Linked DNA regions of Homo sapiens: regions 1, 2, 3, 5, 6 and 7 are each linked to region 4. The links are contacts of gene promoters, found by promoter capture Hi-C in blood cells and fetal thymus (Javierre and others, 2016). All regions are on one chromosome and are shown on one strand. The core of a region is centred on a gene start or on the middle of the fragment in contact, and the rest is flanking DNA. Distances in the headings are between cores, read along the strand shown. Region 1 overlaps NBN (nibrin). Region 2 has its middle 44 kb from the start of OSGIN2. Region 3 overlaps NBN (nibrin). Region 4 holds the start of OTUD6B (OTU deubiquitinase 6B). Region 5 overlaps DECR1 (2,4-dienoyl-CoA reductase 1). Region 6 overlaps DECR1 (2,4-dienoyl-CoA reductase 1). Region 7 has its middle 24 kb from the start of OSGIN2.

Region 1 (2,700 bases), core at 30-2,529, 1.1 Mb after region 4:
GTGTGTAGTGATGTTTCATTTTGGTTTTAATTTGTATATCCCTGATAGCTATAATTGGGTCATAGAAATTCTTTATACATTCTAGATGCAAGTCTCTTGTCGGATATATGTATTGAGATATTACACCTAGTCTGTGGCTTGACTGTTTTCTTTATGTCTTTTGATGAATAGAAGTTTTAAATTTTGACAAGGTCAAATTTATTTTTTTCTTTTGTTTGATATTTTTTCTCTCCAATTTAACCCCAAGATTTCAGATATTCTGCTCTATTATATAAACTTTATATTTTTATATTTGTGATCTACCTTGAATTGATATGTATGTTGTGAATTATGGATCAGGGTTCTTTTTTTCCCCCATACAAGTATCCAGTCATTGTAACACTGTTTATTGAAAGAATTATCCTTTCCTCATTAAATTACCTTGCCAATTAGTAAAAAATCAATTAACCATAATGGTGGATCTGTTTCTGGACTTTCTGTTTGGTTACACTGAAATGTTTGTCCATCCTTGCACTCACTCATACCATACTGCCTTGAATTACTGTAGCTGCATAGATGCTCCTTAAGTTGGGATTACATTGTAATAAACGCAATGTAAGTTGAAAATACTGTATTTAAGTCAAAAGTGCATTTAATACACCTTAACCTACGTCATAGCTTAGCCTAGCCTACCTTAAATGTACTCATGACACAGTAGCCTATAGTTGGGCAAAATCATCTAACACAAAAGCTATTTTATTGTAAAGTACTGAATATTTCATCTAATTTATTGAATAGTAAACTGAAAGCAAAAAACAGAATGATTGTGTAGCTACTCACTATAAACATACACAGCTGAAAGCGCACTGGGCCTGAAGAATGTTTGAAGCATTGAACTAAAATTGCGGCATGATGGGGAATACTACAGCAACAGGATTATCAATTTCCCTACTGATTAGGCTTGAGTAGAAGCATTGGTTGAAGGCACTAAGGGCATCAATACTTGATGGTTTAGCAGGAATAGTGTTCTTCACAAAGAGCAAGAATCAGTTTTTACCCTCTTGATGCTGTGGCTGACGGGAAGCTACGGCTTGCTGCTGCTGCCCAGCATTGCAAGATTGAGTATTCTATGGGCACATTACTAGCCAGGGAAAAGAACAAAATTCAAAGTAGGCTTTCTACTGAATGTCTATCACTCTTGTACTACCATCTAGTCAAAAAATGGTAAGTCAGGACTATGCAGGAAGTCTAGAAGTCAGATACATCAGTCCTCTGAGCATGTCAATTTCTATCCCAAAAATCGGCTAGAATTATTGTGCTGAATCTAAAAATCAATTTGTGAAGAACTGACATCTTAAAAATATTCAGTCTTTCAATCCATGCATGTAAAATGTCTATTCATTTACTTAGATCTACTCTTTCCACATTGTTTTGTAGTTTCACTGTAGAGGCTCAGACATCTGTTTTAATCTGTCCCTAAGCATTTTTTTGGTACTGTAAACGATACTTTCAGAAAGTTCATCTTGCAATGATTTATTCTATATGAAAATACAATTACTTTTGGTGTATAGAATTTGGATCCTGTGAACTTGCTAATCTCACCTATTCTGGCAAAATTTTTTTTTTTTTGGCAGATTCCTTAGGATTTTAAGTACACAATCATGTCATTGGTGAATACAGGCAGTTTTACTTCTTCCTTCCAATTGTTTTTGTCTTTTCTTTTTCTTACCTATTACAGTGGCTGTCAATACAATGTTAAATGTCTTTATTTTTTATCTCAAGGAACTATAGATTTTCTACCTCTAGTAGTTTCAGTAGTTTGCATCTTTTAAGGACTTCATATGTTCCAGTAAGTTGTGAAATGTATTGGTATAAAAGTTTATAGTATTTGCGTTAAAATGTCTGTAATATGTCATGGAGTCTCCCTTTCCTTTCTTGTTACCTGAACCTTGTGTTCTTTGGTTCTTCTCTAACTAGAGGTTTATAAATTAAATTTGTTTGAAGAACATTTAATTTCATTGATTTTTCTCTAATGTATGTCCTTTTTCTATTATTTATTTATTTATTTATTTATTTATTGAGACTCTGTCTCGCTGCCTCCCAGGCTGGAGTGAAATGGTGCGATCTTGGCTCACTGCAACCTCTGCCTCCCAGGTTCAAGCGATACTCCTGCCTCAGGCTCCTGAGTAGCTGGGATTACAGGCATGAACCACCGTGCCTGGCCTCTCCTTTTTCTATTTCATTGATTTTCACTTTCCTTGCTTCTGCTTACTTAGGGTTTAATTTGCTCTTTTTCCCTAGTCCTTTGTAGATCATTGATTTTAAACCCAGCTTCAAAAATGAGTATTTAGAATTTCACTCAACACACCTCTTTAGCTGCATGTGACAAATTTGGTTACTTGAGTGATCTTTTGGCTCAAAAAATGTCCTAATTTCCCTGTGATTTTTTTTCACTGATGTATGGACTAATTTCCAAATATAATTTTTCCATCTACCAAAAGATACAATAGTTAATTGCTATTTATTTCTATATGTTACTATTTCTAAAATTCCACTGTTGTCAGAGATCATATTCAGTCATATTTTAATCTTTTTAAATTTTTTGAGACTTGTTTTATGGGCAAGCATATTGTTGGCCCATTTTGGTGAATATTCTGGTTGCACATAAAAAGAATGAGTATTCTGCAGTTTAGGGGTGTAGTAGTTCTATAAATGTCAGAT
Region 2 (2,760 bases), core at 165-2,664, 1.2 Mb after region 4:
TTCAAATCAGTTATTTTATCCCTGTAAGTACATTAATCTCATTTTGTGCCTTGGAAATTCCAAATCCAAAAGTCATTGAAAGGGAAAGAAATATGAGGTTTGCTTTGAAATCAAGATAGCTAAATTTCTCCCCTGGCTTTGGGGAATGAGGCAGTTATATGAATTTTAAGGGTTTTAGCAACATCCATATTCAAACACAGATATGGAAACACATATCAAAGTTTAAGAAAATGTTTCTTTTATTTACACTCTATTATTCACATTAATGTTGCCTCCCATAGTATCTGAAATAACTAAACAATAGTATTTTTCACATGTATTCAGTTAAGGAAAGGATGTCAGAATCCATGTGGTATTGGAATATGGGATCATTTGACTTTGTCATCTTACCTTTGTCATATTATCTAGCAGTGCTACTGGGAAAGTTAGTTATATTCTCCCAAACTTGGCTTCCTCAGTTGTAAAATAGTAAAATGATAATGTTTACCAGAGCAAATAACAGGCCTTTGGGTGGATCACTGCAATTTCCCTCAACTACAGCTTGATAAAACATTTTCTCTTTATAGTCTTATCAATTCATATTCTTTTGTTATTTCACCTCTGATCTAGAAATGCTGGAGAGGGTACAGTCCTTCCAGGCCTTGTGATTCTTCACAGCGTGCTGTATTACATAACAGAAACATGCCTCATGAGTAAGATAAAGGTTTCCAAACTGGTTTTGCCAAGAAAGTGTTTGGGGATACTTTGTGTGTGCCATCTGTAGTTGCAGATACTGCAAAGTCAAAAACACTTGTAAACATAGTGGTCAGGGCCCTGTCTTGACTCTGAGAATAGCTGTAGGGAGATTCTTCATAGCCATAACTCAGCATGTATTGCTGCCTTTAAATGTGTAAGAAGTGAGTATAACCCCTAGATAACTAACATCTTATACATAGAGCTTAAGAGTGAAAGTTGTAATAGCTTGCCAAGCTCACTCAGTGGAAATAAAATTATACTATGTAGTTTTCTTTTAACCTGTGTTTTTCTTTGACGGAAATACGAACTTTCCCCAGATGTGCCAATGCCAACAGTAGAATGAAAAAATAGCCAGGACAAGCTGCTGCTGAATAATGTTTTGGGTCATAAGGAGTGTCAGAAATCACTCTGATGTCTCTCCATCTATTAGATAAAACACTGAAAGCTATACTTTACCCAACTCAAATCATTGCCATTAGAAAATATTTTAGAAGTGGGAAAAGAAAATGCTTGGTTTTGCAAAATAGTTTACTTTTAAATCTTATTTTAAGTGTTGATTGACCTTGGCTTCAGGATTCACATGAATCCTTTTTTATTTCAAAATGTTTCATGCATCTCCTCCAGCACCCCCCAACCCCTAAAAAGAAAGGTTAAGAAACATTGGTCCCATCTGAATAGGGGCACCCTGTCTGACTGGGAGTTGATTTTCCAAGTCAGCAGAACCGAGGGAAATTATCTGGAAGTGATGCTGCCTGCATTGGCAGCCTGTACCGAGAGGGCTGGACCCACTTCAGAGTCTGATTATACCAAAGACAAAGAATTGTTGGCATCATCAGTTCCCTGAACAAGCAACAAGTGGGCATTCCATTCCAGGGTGGACCGAGTGACCTCATGATCCTTCCCCAACTGTGAGAAAGTTACTTGTAGCTCAGCTATTAGGAAACAAAGAAAGTTTTATATTTTGTGAAAACCGTAGCTTGACAGAGATTTTATTTGGTCAAGAGTTTTATTGACTGAGAAAAACTAAAAATGTTTTAAAGTACGCTTTGTTTGAAATATTAGATATATCTATATACTCAAAATTTTTTTTTAATTTATTAAACACTTATTGAGCATTTGCTGTGTGCCACGCACTTTGTTAGGTATGCGAAATCCAAAAATGAGTAGGACATGCTGTCCTCAAGGAATATGCAGTTTAGTGGACAGACATTTACGTATTAGGTATGTTATATATAAGACAAGTTCAGTCTCTCTGATCATTAGAATAATGTCTACTAACACAAGGAGGCGGAGTGATACAGAGGAAATATCAGGAATTTAGAATCCCAGAGACCTGGTTGTAAATGATGACTCTATGGATGTTAGGAAGCCATGTGAATTTAAGTTATTTGGTCTCTCTGAGTCTCAGTCCCTCATCTTTAAAATGAAGCTATGACATTTTTCTGATTGTGCTGATGTAAGGATTAGACATATTGTTTGTAAAGGGTTTAGCATACTCCCTGGCCCAGAGTGAAAGATCAGTAAAGTGGGTCTTGTATTAATCCTATTACTTTAATAACAATAATATTGATTAGTGACTCCTCCTAGGGTAGGCAAAGTAAATGTCTAGGAAAAAAGTTCTCTAAGCCTTGATTAAATACCTTACTTTTGAAGAATACATTACTTTTCTATATTTACTAAGGGCAGAGTGTTAACTAAAAAGATAGCATAAATTCAGACAGATATTGTATTTCCAAAAACAAACGTAGTGTCAGTGTGAGACAGTAAGGGTTAGAGAACTAGACTAGGAGTTCTGGCTCTGGTTCGAACTCTGCCTCACAGTGACTGAGAGAAAGTTAGGTAAGCCTCTTAATGGAATAGGGCCAAGGACCTTGGGAGTTGTGGGGCCTTGGGAGAGGCCATCAGCAGCCTCAAGCTCCATCCAATCTGAGTGAAATAGTGTACCTGCTATGCAATGGTGTCTACAAAACCAGTTCTCCAGCTTTGTGGCCAGGTTGCCATGCCAACGCCCTACCTGCACAGAAG
Region 3 (2,700 bases), core at 137-2,636, 1.1 Mb after region 4:
TGATGAGGGGACAGGTAAAGGCCTTTCCAGCTGAATTCCTCCCTGTTTTCTAAGGAGCTTTCTCAGAAACCCAACTTAATAGCTTTTGTTATTGGCCAGAATTGGAAATAATTTAGCCACTCTCTATCCTCAATCTAGAAGAGTCTGGAAATGTTTTAAACTTGGCACATTGCTGTCCCTGATAAAGAGTTGCATTTAAGGAAAAAAGAGAGAATGAATGTTGAATTATCGGATTCCATTTTGCAGCCAGAGTGAGAAGTTCAGAGACAGAGGTTTTTTTTTTATTGTGAAGGATTTAAGACTACTCTCATTTCACAGATGCACTAAGTGAAACAAGAGATTTGTATGTTCTATAAGTCACTTCTGTCGCAATTCCTACTATGGTGGAGAGCTAGGTAAATTAGTTTAATGTGACATTTGTTGAAATCCAAGACATCATTTGCTAAGTTTAATACATTTACATATGTTTATAAAGCTATCTTTATTCTGTTGGTATTATGGATTTACATTGTTACTTTAGTTCCAGACTTTTCAGAATCTGTATTCAGGTTACTTAATATTACATGTAAGTGTTTAGAAAGTTAGGCACTTTTTACATTACTTTGGCCACACCTTTGGAAATACATTTCCCTTGCTGTGCTCTCTTCTCCTCTGATTTTCTCTGACATGTTATTTTCTTTAGTCTTCTTGTCCTAGTACATGCTTTAATCTTTTTTTTTTTTTTTTTTTTGAGACAGAGTCTTGCTCTGTCACCCAGGCTGGAGTTCAGTGGCGTGATCTCCGCTCACTGCAAGCTCCGCCTCCCGGGTTCACGCCATTCTCCTGCCTCAGCATCCCTAGTAGCTGGGACTACAGGCGCCCGCCACCACGCCTGGCTAATTTTTTGTACTTATAGTAGAGATGGGGTTTCGCTGTGTTAGCCAGGATGATCTCAATCTCCTGACCTCGTGATCCACCCACTTCGGCCTCCCAAAGTGACTTTAATTTTTTTTAAGTAGCTACCCCCACCCCACTTTTTTTCCCTTAAATTCCATCCCAGATTAGTCTACTGCTATGGTGGCCACAAATCTATCTGGAAATGGTTGTGGTTTTAGTCTGTAACAGCCCTCCTTGGCTCATCCTGGATGACTGCTAATTAATCTTCCTGAAGACCTACTTTCACTGCACATTCTCCCAGGGCTTATGTCACTCAGGGCACTGGGCATTAGAGCACAGACAGGGAAAGACAAGAACTGAGCACTATACACCCTTGACATGGGAGCCATCAAACAGTCTTTCATAGACCGAAAGAAACTTTCATTTAATATGTAAGGTTTATATGAGGTATAACGATATGAGGAAATATAATTATTTTATTTTGCCCTATGATTCTATAGCATAATTCCATTTTTCCTTTATTTTACTGTTTGAGAATTCATGACATTCTAAATGAAAATTACAGTACAAAATATGTTGTTGTAGGCTTTTGGAGAAAGAATAGCAATTTAATTGCGGTATCTCTCATTGAGATACAGTTGGCCCTCTGTATCCATGGGTCCCACATCCTCTGATTTTACCAACCTGTGATTGAAAGTATTTGGGAAAAAAAAAATGCGTCTGTACATGTACAAACTTTTTAAAAATTATTATTTCCTAAACAATGCAATATAACAACTACTTACGTAGCACTTACATTGTATTAGGTATTGTAAGTATTCTAGAGATGATTTAAAGTATATGAGAGGATGTGCCTAGGTTATATGCAAAATTTATGCTTTTTTTTATCAGGGACTTGAGCATCCATGGATTTTGGTGTCCATGGGAAGTCATGGAACCAGTTCCTCAGGGATACCACAGGGATGACTACTACAAGTTAAATCACTGTATTCCAGCACTATAATATTTTTAGTAAGAATCTGTAATAGCTACAAAAGTATTTCTGTTTTCAATGTAAGGTTACTTTTAAAAACTGTTTGAGACAATTGTTTGTCCACATGCAGCGAACCCTTTATCTAATTTCCCCTGATTGTTACAGCTTGCATAACTACAGTACAGTATCACAACCAGGAAATTGACATTGATAAAATCCATCAACCTTACTCAATGTGGGGTTGTTTTAAATTATTTTATTTTTGTTATTTTAAGAATTTGTCTGAAAGTCCATGTTAATCTCATGGATTAAAGGAATTGGTGCTTAATTTTTTTAGCTACAGAAGTGACTGTCAGAGAAAAATACTTCTTAATCCTTTCATTTAAACATTTTTTTGGCGATTTTTTGAAGGCAAAAAATGTGATACTTCTCTTTGGTGTTGGAATCCCTAGCTATATTTCAGAAAGGCACTTTCCAATAGATGTTGATGGTAGAACTGTCATTTCTCTGTTTTTGGATCTAAATTTAGATTATAGCATGTCTGTAAGATTTCCTGTCAGCTGAAATGGAAAACTATTAGCTTAATATTCCTCCTAGGACTTTATCCTTATACGAATGATAGCTGTGCCTGAGTCTTGGCCTTACTTTCAGTTTCCCAGTCTCTATAAAATGCAAAACTGACTCAAGATCCTTAACATTCTTCTCCTTAACAGCACCCACTGTGTCTATAGTATATTTCCTCTTCACTTCATTGTACTCTCCTTTCTCAAGTCAAGCATTTTTATATAGCATTTTTTCAATACCCAGTAGTAAATTCTTAAAACTACAGCATTTTCCAGTACCCTGTAGTA
Region 4 (2,700 bases), core at 152-2,651:
GTCACAAAAACATTAATGAGAAGTGATGCATGAGCATAACTAAGTGATTTCATTTCCCTACCAATTTTATGATTTTAGATAATAAACAGTTTAACAGGGCCGGGCACGGTGGCTCACGCCTGTAATCCCAGCACTTTGGGAGGCCGAGGCGGGTGGATCACAAGGTCAGGAGATCGACACCGTCTTGGCTAACATGGTGAAACCCTGTCTCTACTAAAAATACAAAAAATTAGCCGGGCGTAGTGGCGGGCGCCCGTAGTACCAGCTACTCGGGAGGCTGAGGCAGGAGAATGGCCTGAACCCGGGAGGCGGAGCTTGCAGTGAGCCAAGATTGAGCGTGTTTTGCAAAGCGAGACACCGTCTCAAAAAAAAAAAAAAAAGCAGTTTAACATTTAACAGAAGTGGACAGCTGTTTTCAAATGGTGTAGGCAACGACAAACATTTATTTCACATACCTTATTCTCCTTAGTAGTCAGCTTCAATTGCTCCAGTTCCTCTCTATGTTTCTGTTCCATTTCTTTTTCCAACTTGGCCACATCTTCGGTGAGTTGCTTCCTCCTCTTCTTGTCATTCTTGGGAACAGCATTCTTCATGCCCTGAATTTTGGCTGAAAAGCCATTAAAATCATTAAGTCAGACACGCAGGAGTAAAAGGAGATGAGAAACAGGAACCAATAAGGGGATGGTAACGGGCGAAGGGTACAGAAAAAGTAATTATGGAAGAAAGAGTCATCACGTAACAGGCAGCTACAGAGAGAGAAGATCCCAGATAAAGCTGAGACCAAAAAAAAAAAAAACTTCATTAACAAAATCTTGAATATGTTTCGGTTGTTTGGCGAGATAAGAGAAGGAAAAAAACCTGACTGTAGCCAGTTTTAAATCTTTCCGGTATCCTTTCTGAACCTCCTAAACTGAGGCGGGTCCATTCAAAATACACCCATTAGGGACAAGTATCGGTAACTGGGGCAGGTATAGAAAAGGGAGGCATCGTGGGTTTGGGAGCGGACCAAGACGGCGGCTTCTAGGTATTTTCAGACACCTGCACCCCGGCGGCGGCGCGGGGTAGGGGGCACGCCGCAGGCCTCAGAAGGGGAAGCCTCTGAAGGTTGGGGAATTAAAGGGCCGCCGGGGTAGGTGAAGAGAGAAGAGGCCACTTGCTACTAGGGGAAGTCTAGGGTGATCCAGATAAGTCACGCCTTGAGATTCCCCAGAATCGACCCGCCACGCGCCCTTCCCCCAGTCGCGGCGGCTTCCAGATTCCCACTTCCTTCCGCCTCACCTTGCAACTCCTTCTTCTCTTTGCGATGCCTTCTCAGCAGCTGCTCTTCCTCATCAAGCTCTTCGGTCAATACCGCCTCCATGACGACCAGGTACCCCAGCACACGCGCTAGAAGAAACCTGCACCGGCTAGTAGGCACCTTCCACCCCTCAACCCTCACCCGGGGCTCCATTGGCTACGGCTGGGACCCAGCCCCGCCTTCAAGGCGGCACCGGATCTAAGCAAAGCCACTGCAAAGACGAGAAACTTAAATGGGGTGCTGCGCGTGCGCGCTACCGTGACCCTGCCGTGATGGGCGGGGCGGCAGGGGAGGAACCAGACTGCGAGCGGAGAAGCGGAGTTTGCAGCCTCGGAATTGGCTAGAGCGCCAGAGCCGAGTCAGCCATAAAGCTACGCGCTAGGCTCTTGGCCCTGACGTGAGGCGCGCAGAGATGGCGTAACGGGAATAGTTTTCAACGTCTATTTCATTCCCTGCTTCAGAGGACCTCTTTAATCTTTGATTTTGGTCCCTGTTTCTAAGAAAAGCAACTGAAAAGGTAAGAAAGAAAAATAACGCATTTTAATAAAGCCGTCGATAATTATCAATGGGAATCTTTGGGCTGTTTGGGGCTGTGTGGAATTAAATTATGTTTATTGTCTCCAAGGTCGTAATACCGCCCCTGAGAAAAAAGGAGCAGCGCTAAATAATCGAGAAAATGCCTCCTCTTGAAACGGATATAGAGATGGAAACAAGATATAAGAAGGATTGAGAATCATATAATACAGGAGCTTAAACACCTATGCGCGATGATAAAGAGGGTACTATTAGAGCGCTTGGAAAATACCAGGAAGTTGAGAGAGTTAACAGAAGGGCGCACGCTGGATTGGCCACAAAATCGAATTACTGAAGTAAGTGCAAAACGACAAATTGTCACAGAATACAGAGAAAAGGGGAAAAGAAATTAAGAGGAGAAAAAGAGAGATCTAGAGGGCCGGTCCAGGAGATACAATCTATGCATAATAGGAATACCTGAAACTGAGGACAGAGCAAGTGGAGCTGAAACAATAAAGGATCTACTTGAAAAAATTTTCCAGAATTGAAGAACGAACTAGATCTACAAATGGAAAAGGCTCATAGGATACCTTTAAAGTTTAATGAAAAGAAAGCAGCATCTAGACATATCCGGGTGACGTTTTTGAATTTCAAAGACGAAACATTTTACAAGCATCCAGTCAGAGAAAGCAGGTTACTTACAAAGGGGCAAAAGTCAGGCTGACCTCAGATTTTTCTCCTGCAATTCTAAATGCCAGAAGACAGTGGAACAATATCTAGAGTGTTAAGGGAAAATAATTTTGAGCCAAGAATTATATACTCTGCCAAGTTATCATTTCTTTACAAAGGAAACTGGAAGACATTCTTAGATATACAGGGGTTAGGAAAGT
Region 5 (2,725 bases), core at 89-2,588, 1.0 Mb after region 4:
CAAAAGAAAATTAAAATACACACAGACACAAACACAGAACAACAACATAACATTCACAGCATGCAATAAAAAATTACTGCACATAAAAAGACACAGAAACCTAACAAGGAGAAAAATGATTAATAGACAAAGAGTCCCAGAAATGACAGAGAAGACAGATGTAGCAGACAAACAGCCTTTTAAATGCTATTACAAATATTTTAAAAGATTTCACTGAAAATATTTATATGATGAGAAAAATGGAAAATACAAAATAGAAACCAATATGGCTTCTACAGCAGAAAAATACAGCATCTGAAAGGAAAAATTGAACAAATAAGCTTAGCTGTAGAAGAAAAGATCCATGAATCTGAAGACACAGCAATATAAACTATCCAAAATGAAAGACAAATGGGAAAAAAAAAACTGAGGAAAAACCCAGAACCTCACTGACCTATGGAACAGTATCTAGCATTCTAACAAACGTATAGTTAGAGTCACAGAGGAAGAAAAAGCACTTGAATAAGGACTAAAAAAATTCCGAATTTGGTAAAAACTATAACTTACAATGCAGAAAGCTAAATGAATCCCAAGCAGGATAAACAGGGAAAAAAATCAATACATTATCATAATCAATAACTGAAAACCAATGATATATAGAATCCTAATTGCAGCCAAAGGTAAAAATAAGCAATAAAAATACACAAACACAGACAAAAATTTTCATTGTCTTCTCATTTCTAAAAATAATGTAAGCTAGAAGACAATGGAGTTATATTTTTAAGGTGTTGAAAGATAAAACTTAACTCTGAATTCCATATCCATCAAAAATACCCTTCAAAAATCAAGGTGATATGAAAATGATATTATAGAGAAACTGAGATTGTCAAAAGGAAAGAAATAGTAAATATGTAGGTAAATATAAAATATTTTTTCTTGTTTTCTAAATTTCTTTTTAAAATGATTGTATAAAAGCTATATTACAAAGTGATACTGCATATACAGTGGTCAATAGTGTCTAGGACACAGCAGGTTCTCAATAAATTAACTGAATAAGGCCAGGCACAGTGGCTCATGCCTGTAATCCCAGCACTTTGGGAGACCAAGGGGAGCAAATCACCTGAGGTCAGGAGTTCGAGACCAGCCTGGCCAACATAGTGAAATCCTGCCTGTACTAAAAATACAAAAATTAGCCAGGTGTGGTAGGGCATGCCTGTAATTCCAGCTACTCAGGAGGCTGAGGCAGGAGAATCACTTGAACCCAGGAGGCAGAGGATGCAGTGAGCCGAGATGATGCCAGTGCACTCCAGTCTGGGTGACAAGAGTGAGACTCCATCTCAAAAAATAAATAAATAAACAAACAAACAAATAAATAAATAAACAAATAAAGGCTTAAAAGGGTAATCTTTAGGTCCTGAGAAATCAGTGATTTCTCTACTTCTTATTTATTCATAACACGGGATAAGACAATACTTAATATTTGCAAAAGGATCAAAATAAGTTTACATCTTTTACATAACAGCAAATACTTTTAGAAATTTAAATTTGAAGGACTACAAGGAAAGTATTTTGAAGAATATTCAGATAAGTTTTTTCTCTGCTCCATATATTTAGTTTCTCTTTCTCTCAGCATGTTCCAGAGTAGAAAGAAAACTCAGCACATCCTGGGAAACACGGGGGTGGAAGAGGGGGCAGGAGTACCATTTTGAGGATAGGAAAAAATAAGAATGGTTATGTTAATCATTCTGGTAACTCCTTCTATATATCAAACAGCCTTTCAGATTGCTGAAAATTACTTTGCTTCCAAAATCGTACTCCATGAAAGAGGAGGGATGTAGAACATTAGTGGGCTCCATTACAGTACATTGACAACAGATGCTAACTGTATCATTCTTATAGCAAAATTACAAAAGAAAAAAAACTGCTTTAAAAGTGGCAAATACAAAGCAAATGCTCCAATGGAAAGTGCACTATCTTTCAACTAAGACTGAACAAATACATTTCTCCAAGTGTGGGAAAGGAGTTAAGCCATCCTACTACAATTTAGATGCTGAAATGAAAGTTATTTTACTATTCTTTTTATCCCTTTAAGGTTTTATTTTCTCAGCCTAGAAAATTTGGGTAGCCCACCTCTTAGAATAATATACTGCAGCTTTTAATTCTCATGAGTGTAAAAGGGAGATAAAGGTTTGAAACTGCACTGTTCCAATAGCATTAATGCTGCAAGGTGAAACAATTATCGGCTTCAAAAAAATGAACAGTGGTGCTAAAGTGCAAAGTAAAGAATTCCTAGATCCCCAGGGTTAGTCACATATATTTTCCTTCTTGTACAGAGGCCCATTATTTCAGTTAGAATAACTGCTCATGGAAAAGCTTTATAAAAGTCAAGTTTCTAACAGCTCAGAGCAGACAACAGAAATGAATCTATATTATTAATGAGGTTAAGAAAATAGAGAAGGGAAGCAATAAATGAAATAAATATTATGTTAGTCCATCCTTTGTTATTTTGAAATGGAAAAAAATAGTAATAAAAGAACATCAAAAATCATATTATCTATCAAAAAAGCTATGATATGTGCAAGATTATGATCTAATTTCAAAAGAAGATTCAAAAGTTCTAAAATCTGGTTTCAATACAAACTATGAATTGAAAGAATCACTAAACAAATTTAGTTCCAATGACCAACAGAAGGGGAATAGTATAGACACCTGGGCTCAGAAACTGATTCCACTATTTACTAGCTGT
Region 6 (2,702 bases), core at 8-2,507, 1.1 Mb after region 4:
GGGCTTCAAGTGATCTTCCTGCCTCAGCTTCCCAGTAGCTGGGATTACAGGCACACACCATCCCACCTGGCTCCATGTCGTACTTTTTAACTTCATCTTCGTGTACAGAAAAAGAAATATTCTACCACTGAATTGGAGAAATTAAAATAATGAAAATTGCGGATGTTTACCCAAACATCAGTTCCACAATTTTCATTGTTTCTTTCATCTCAAATAGTACCTAACTTTTTCCAAAAAGATGTATTTAAATAATCTAAATAATATTTCTAGTATTTCATATAAGATTAAGATGCTAATCAAACAACTCTGGCGAACAGTGTTTTCAATACTATGGCACAGAACAGTTTCTTCAAAAGCGTCGCCAATAGGCTTGATGTAAGGGACTTACCGGCTGGCTATCACGCACTGAGCACCTAGGCTGGACAGAAGAGTTGTCATTCCTTTACCAAGGCCAGTACCTCCCCCAGTAATGAATGCCACTTTTCCTTGAAAACTATTAGGTGGTAGCATCGCTTTTTGAAGAGGTGAAAAGAATTTAGATTGCAAAGCTTCAGTGTTTTGATATAATATTTTTGTCCCATAACTGAAAAACTAAAAGGGGAAAATGAATTTAAATTTGCATACATATATTTCCAAAAAACAGATGAATTTTTTAAAACATGCTCTTGAATTTAATAGTAATCAAATTCTTGTATTAACACAAACTCACTGCAAACATATTGGTATTGTACTTAATTATTATTCTTTGTTTTCTGATTTAAAAAGCACAGGCTCTGGAGCTGGACTACATAGCACAGAATTTTCTCCCAAGCTATGTAACTTTCAGCAGGTTATTTGACCTCTCTGTGCCTCAGTTCCTTCATCTACAAAATGGGGACAATAAAATAAATTTCTTCATATGGCATTGTGAGGATTATATGAGTTATTACAGGTAAAGCACCTAGAGCAGTGTGTAGCACATAGTAAGCACTACAAATGCTACCATTATTAGCTGCAGGTGTTTTGCTTAAATTAAATTGTTGTGTTTTGTTTTGGTTTTTGGTTTTGTTTTGTTTTGTTTTGTTTGTTTGTTTTTTTGAGATGGAGTCTCGCTCTGTAGCCAGGCTGGAGTGCAGTGGCATGATCTTGGCTGACTGCAACCTCCGCCTCCCAGGTTCAAGCGATTCTCCTGCCTCAGCCTCCCGAGTAGAGTAGCTGGGATTACAGGCACACACCACCACGCCGTTAAATTTTTGTATTTTTAGTACAGACAGGGTTTCACCATGTTGGCTAGGATGGTCTCGATCTCCTGACCTCATGATCTGCCCACCTCGGCCTCCCAAAGAGCTGGGATTACAGGCATGAGCCACCACACCCGACCAAATTTAATTTTTAAAAAACTAACATAAAGCATTTTTGTCTTTCAACAAGAATAATCTGGACAAAAATCACTTTCCACCTTTGAATTACTGAAGAAAATTGTTAAAAATTCTCTATAAGGATTATTAAATCAAATGCCTCTTCCCATGCTAGCTTCTGGCCACAAAACATAAAACAGAATATTTCTGTTATTTATTTTAAATGGGAGGAAAATCAATCCATTTCGGAGTAAAAAATATTTGTATTGCCCTATTTTATATGTTAACAGCTTGTACTCACATTACATGCGAACATCACTGCCATTCTCTCGCATTTAATCATAAAACAAACTTTAGGTATCTAATATAATGAACAATAGGAGCTAACATTCATTAAGTAGTTACCACCTGCCAGGATTACATATCAAACTATTTAATCTTCCAAACAACCACATGAAATAGGTATTAGTTTTATCCTATTGTACAGAAAGGGCTCAGAGTGATAAAAAATATATATATTGCCAAAGTTGCAGAACCAAGGTTCAAACTGACTGACAGGCTCCAGAGCCTTCTCTGATAACCAGCTTGCATATTCCTCTGTCTATTCTCTGAGATCCTGCTAAGCTTAATGGTCACACCAGGGAGGTTATGTGATATTCCATTAGGTCATGGTGGCAAGATTAACACTCCAGTTAAAACTCCAGAAGCTACCATTTCCTTCCAGAGTATTCCTGTAGCTAAATAGGCTGTCATCAGTTGGTTCAGGATATCTTGAAATTTATCCTCAGGAAAGAATAAGAAATGTGGTCAATGATTTAGAAGGAGGCTGTTCATCACCTGGAAATTGCACAAGAAAATGTTTATAATGTGATGTTAAATGAAAAAAAAGAAACAAATATACAGTATGTTTTTAACTACAAATAAAAATATATGCTTAGAAAAAAAGACTAGAAGGAAATAACAACAGTAAGTAGTAGATTCAATATTTACCATACAGTCCTCAAAACAGCTCTATAAGGTAAATTCAATTGTTACTTCTATTTTATAGATGAAAAAAACTGAAGCACAGAAAGGTCAAGTAGCTAGCTGTTAAAGATAAATAATAATAGGGAATAAAGACTTAAATCCAGTATCTGTCTGACTTCAGAGTCCACCCATTACTTTACAGTTATGGTTAAGTGATGAGATTATAGATAATTATTTGTTTTTTTTTGTTTGTTTGTTTGATTGGTTTTTAGTACTTTCCAAATCTATCCAATAAGTATGATTAGATCTTTACAAGCAGAAAAAAAGTTACTGAAAGACAAAATTTGAGATCATGTATAAAATAATTGAAGATACATTTGTAAATCTTGTTATGCTCCA
Region 7 (2,700 bases), core at 46-2,545, 1.2 Mb after region 4:
GTTTGTTTGTTTTTGTTTGTTTTTTTTGAGACAGGATCTTACTCTGTTGCCCAGGCTACACAGTAGCCTCAAACTCCTAGGCTCAAGTGATCCTCCTGCCTCAGCCTCTTGAGTAGCTAGGACTATAGGCACACACCAATATGCCTGGCTAATTTTTTTTTAAAAATGTTTGTAGAGACAGAGTCTCACTGCATTACCCAGGCTGGTCTAGAACACTTGGCCTCAAATGATCTTCCTGCCTTGGCCTCCCAAAGCATTGGGATTACAGGTGTGAGCCACTGACCTGGCCAGTTTAGCAATTCTTGAAAAATGAATTTTATTAGGAAGAGACATTGTGGGTTTATCAAACATCTGGAGTGGTTTTTTTTTTTTTTTTTTTTTTTTTTTTTAGACAGCGTCTCACTCTGTTGCCAGGCTGGAGTGCTATGGCACCATCTCCGCTCACTGCAACCTCCGCCTCCCAGGTTCAAGCAATTCCCCTGCCTCAGCCTCCCAGGTAGCTGGGATTATAGGCGTGCACCACCACGCCCAGCTAATTTTTGTACTTTTAGTAGAGACAGGGTTTCACCATGTTGGCCAGGATGGTCTCAGTCTCTTGACCTTGTGATCCACCCACCTCAGCCTCCCAAAGTGCTGGGATTACAGGCGTGAGCTACCATGCCCAGCCTGGAATGTTTTTAAAAACATTTATTCTCTATAATTTTCAAACATGTTTAAGCTAATAACCCTCTTCCATTAAAATATATTTAAATTTCTACTTTAGAAGTAATATATGGTCATTACAGAAAATTAAGAAAAAGGGTATATATTTCTGTAAAAAAAAAAAAGAAAAGAAAATGAGTCCAGATGTGATGGCTCATACCTGTAATTCCAGCACTTTGGGAGGCCAGGGTGGGTGGATCACTGGAGGTCAGGAGTTCGAGAGCAGCCTGGCCAACATGGTGAAATTCCATCTCTACAAAAAATACAAAATTAGCCAGGCGTGGTGGTGCACGCCTGTAGTCCCAGTTACTTAGGAGGCTGAGGCACAAGAATTTCTTGAATACAAGAGGCAAAGTTTGCAGTGAGCTGAGATGGTGCAACTGCACTCCAGCCTGGGTGACAGAGCAAGACTCTTTAAAAAAAAAAAAAAAAAGAAAGAAAGAATAAAAGAGAATTAGAGATATAAGAAGCATACCACTAAATGTAACAACTGTTAATATTTTGTATATTTCCTTCTATAATATACATATATGTACCGATATAAACATATACTAGATATATATACACATACTTTTAAAATTCTGATTTTATTAAATATTCTTTTAAAATCTTATTTTAATAATTTCCTAATAGTGTACACTATTGTTTTATATCATAACATTTAATTATATTCCTTCCTGTTGAGCATTTAGGCATAAAACATGGGATTTACTAACTTAAACATCAAAACCAGGTAAGTCCCATTCTGAACTCTTCTCTTTGGGTTTTTTTGTTTGTTCATTTGCTTGTTTTCTCTTTTTTGAGACGGAGTCTTGCTCTGTCCCGGCTGGAGTGCAGTGGCCCGATCTTGGCTCACTGCAACCTCCACCTCCCGGGTTCAAGCAGTTCTCTTGCCTCAGCCTCCTGAGTAGGTGGGACTACAGGCACGCATCACCACGCCCAGCTAATTTTTGTATTTCTGTATTTTTAGTAGAGACGGGGTTTCACCATGTTGGCCAGGATGGTCTCGATCTCTTGACCTTGTGATCCGCCCACCTCGACCTCCCAAAGTGCTGAGATTACAGGCGTGAGCCACCGCACCTGGCTCTTTTCTGTGTTTTTATCCCGCAGTGTACTACAGGTTTGGGTTGGCTCAGGGTTGAGGTCTTTTTGTATCAAATCCAGTTGTCCATTGAGAAAGCTAGATGGTCATGGCCATATCTCTATCACAGTTCTCTTCCTCCACTCCAAATATACGGCCAAGGTCTAATATAAAACTCTTTAAATGAAAGAGTGGAAAGCAAACCATGTTGTGTTCTAATGGATGTTACATTCACAGATTATATTAGAGATCAGGCTCCTCCCTGCTTTAAGAGACATAAGGAATTCATTTAAGGTAAGTTATTTCTTACCAGAAAAACAAGTTCTTTATCTGGAATGACACAATCTTTAAATAAATAAAAGAATTTGAGTATGCAGTGTTGTCTTTCTGCAGAGAATGTCTTAAGAAAAACTAATTTGTTCTGAAAATTGAAACATGGAAACGTGGACAAACAGCTAGAAAAAAATTTTTTTAAGAAAAATTTAAGACTCATATTTCCCTTATATACTTTTTAAAAATCAACCTCATAATTATATAAATAAGACAGAGCTTAATGGCTAGCTAAGCTAGGTCAGAAATAAAGCAATCCAAATGAAAATTTAGAAATGTGGTTGGTAATGGGAGCACAAGGGGCTGGATGGGAACAGGGAGTGAGAAGGAAAGCTCACAACAGTCCATTCCTAAAGCCCTCTGCAAAGACTCTTCACACCTCACTGAAATGGGGGAGGGCTCTACCCTAGGACACAGATGGGTTTACAGCAAGGACACCTAGCCACTTCCAGATATCTCAAATGTCCCACAGGCTTCTTCCCTAGATGAACCCTTAATGAGACCTTGGATAATGTGGAAGTTAGAACAGTGAACTACATCTTGAGATTGTTGTCCCAGAGGTATTATGGTAATTTAGTGAAAGCAGC

Evidence for each region. Contacts are between HindIII fragments. The CHiCAGO score rates a contact against its expected background, and 5 or more counts as called.
Region 1: a contact is called between a fragment that was not itself captured here and the fragment with the promoter of OTUD6B in region 4, in 6 of 17 cell types (total CD4 T cells, naive CD8 T cells, neutrophils and 3 more). The highest score is 8.1, in total CD4 T cells.
Region 2: a contact is called between a fragment that was not itself captured here and the fragment with the promoter of OTUD6B in region 4, in 1 of 17 cell types (neutrophils). The highest score is 7.8, in neutrophils.
Region 3: a contact is called between a fragment that was not itself captured here and the fragment with the promoter of OTUD6B in region 4, in 3 of 17 cell types (fetal thymus, neutrophils and monocytes). The highest score is 7.5, in fetal thymus.
Region 5: a contact is called between a fragment that was not itself captured here and the fragment with the promoter of OTUD6B in region 4, in 7 of 17 cell types (neutrophils, naive B cells, activated CD4 T cells and 4 more). The highest score is 9.2, in neutrophils.
Region 6: a fragment that was not itself captured here is called in contact with the fragment with the promoter of OTUD6B in region 4 in 11 of 17 cell types (neutrophils, total B cells, total CD4 T cells and 8 more); the score reaches 11.9 in neutrophils.
Region 7: a fragment that was not itself captured here is called in contact with the fragment with the promoter of OTUD6B in region 4 in 2 of 17 cell types (neutrophils and total B cells); the score reaches 7.9 in neutrophils.

What each region holds. Positions count from the first base shown.
Region 1 is chr8:89,931,237-89,933,936 of GRCh38, reverse strand. NBN (nibrin) reads left to right here. Exons shown (of 16, transcript NM_002485.5): 16 at 1-606. Among named protein-coding and RNA genes, the nearest start is that of OSGIN2, 30 kb to the right of the region's middle. The HindIII fragment of the contact is 3,477 bases long and covers 1-2,700 here.
Region 2 is chr8:89,856,858-89,859,617 of GRCh38, reverse strand. No RefSeq gene overlaps it. Among named protein-coding and RNA genes, the nearest start is that of OSGIN2, 44 kb to the left of the region's middle. RefSeq lists a silencer at 1,443-1,737. The HindIII fragment of the contact is 8,587 bases long and covers 1-2,760 here.
Region 3 is chr8:89,949,342-89,952,041 of GRCh38, reverse strand. All of the region lies in intron 11 of NBN (nibrin), which reads left to right. Among named protein-coding and RNA genes, the nearest start is that of NBN, 34 kb to the left of the region's middle. The HindIII fragment of the contact is 3,364 bases long and covers 1-2,700 here.
Region 4 is chr8:91,069,045-91,071,744 of GRCh38, reverse strand. It overlaps OTUD6B (OTU deubiquitinase 6B), which reads right to left and starts at 1,401. Exons shown (of 7, transcript NM_016023.5): 1 at 1,279-1,401; 2 at 456-607. The coding sequence starts at 1,360. OTUD6B-AS1 (OTUD6B antisense RNA 1) reads left to right here and starts at 1,556. Exons shown (of 3, transcript NR_110438.1): 1 at 1,556-1,814; 2 at 1,923-2,166. RefSeq lists an enhancer at 1,174-1,353. The HindIII fragment of the contact is 11,349 bases long and covers 1-2,700 here.
Region 5 is chr8:90,033,062-90,035,786 of GRCh38, reverse strand. The region is part of intron 5 of DECR1 (2,4-dienoyl-CoA reductase 1); the gene reads right to left. Among named protein-coding and RNA genes, the nearest start is that of DECR1, 33 kb to the right of the region's middle. The HindIII fragment of the contact is 2,032 bases long and covers 323-2,354 here.
Region 6 is chr8:90,015,013-90,017,714 of GRCh38, reverse strand. It overlaps DECR1 (2,4-dienoyl-CoA reductase 1), which reads right to left. Exons shown (of 10, transcript NM_001359.2): 2 at 389-591. Among named protein-coding and RNA genes, the nearest start is that of DECR1, 15 kb to the right of the region's middle. The HindIII fragment of the contact is 1,413 bases long and covers 551-1,963 here.
Region 7 is chr8:89,876,779-89,879,478 of GRCh38, reverse strand. No RefSeq gene overlaps it. Among named protein-coding and RNA genes, the nearest start is that of OSGIN2, 24 kb to the left of the region's middle. The HindIII fragment of the contact is 8,683 bases long and covers 1-2,700 here.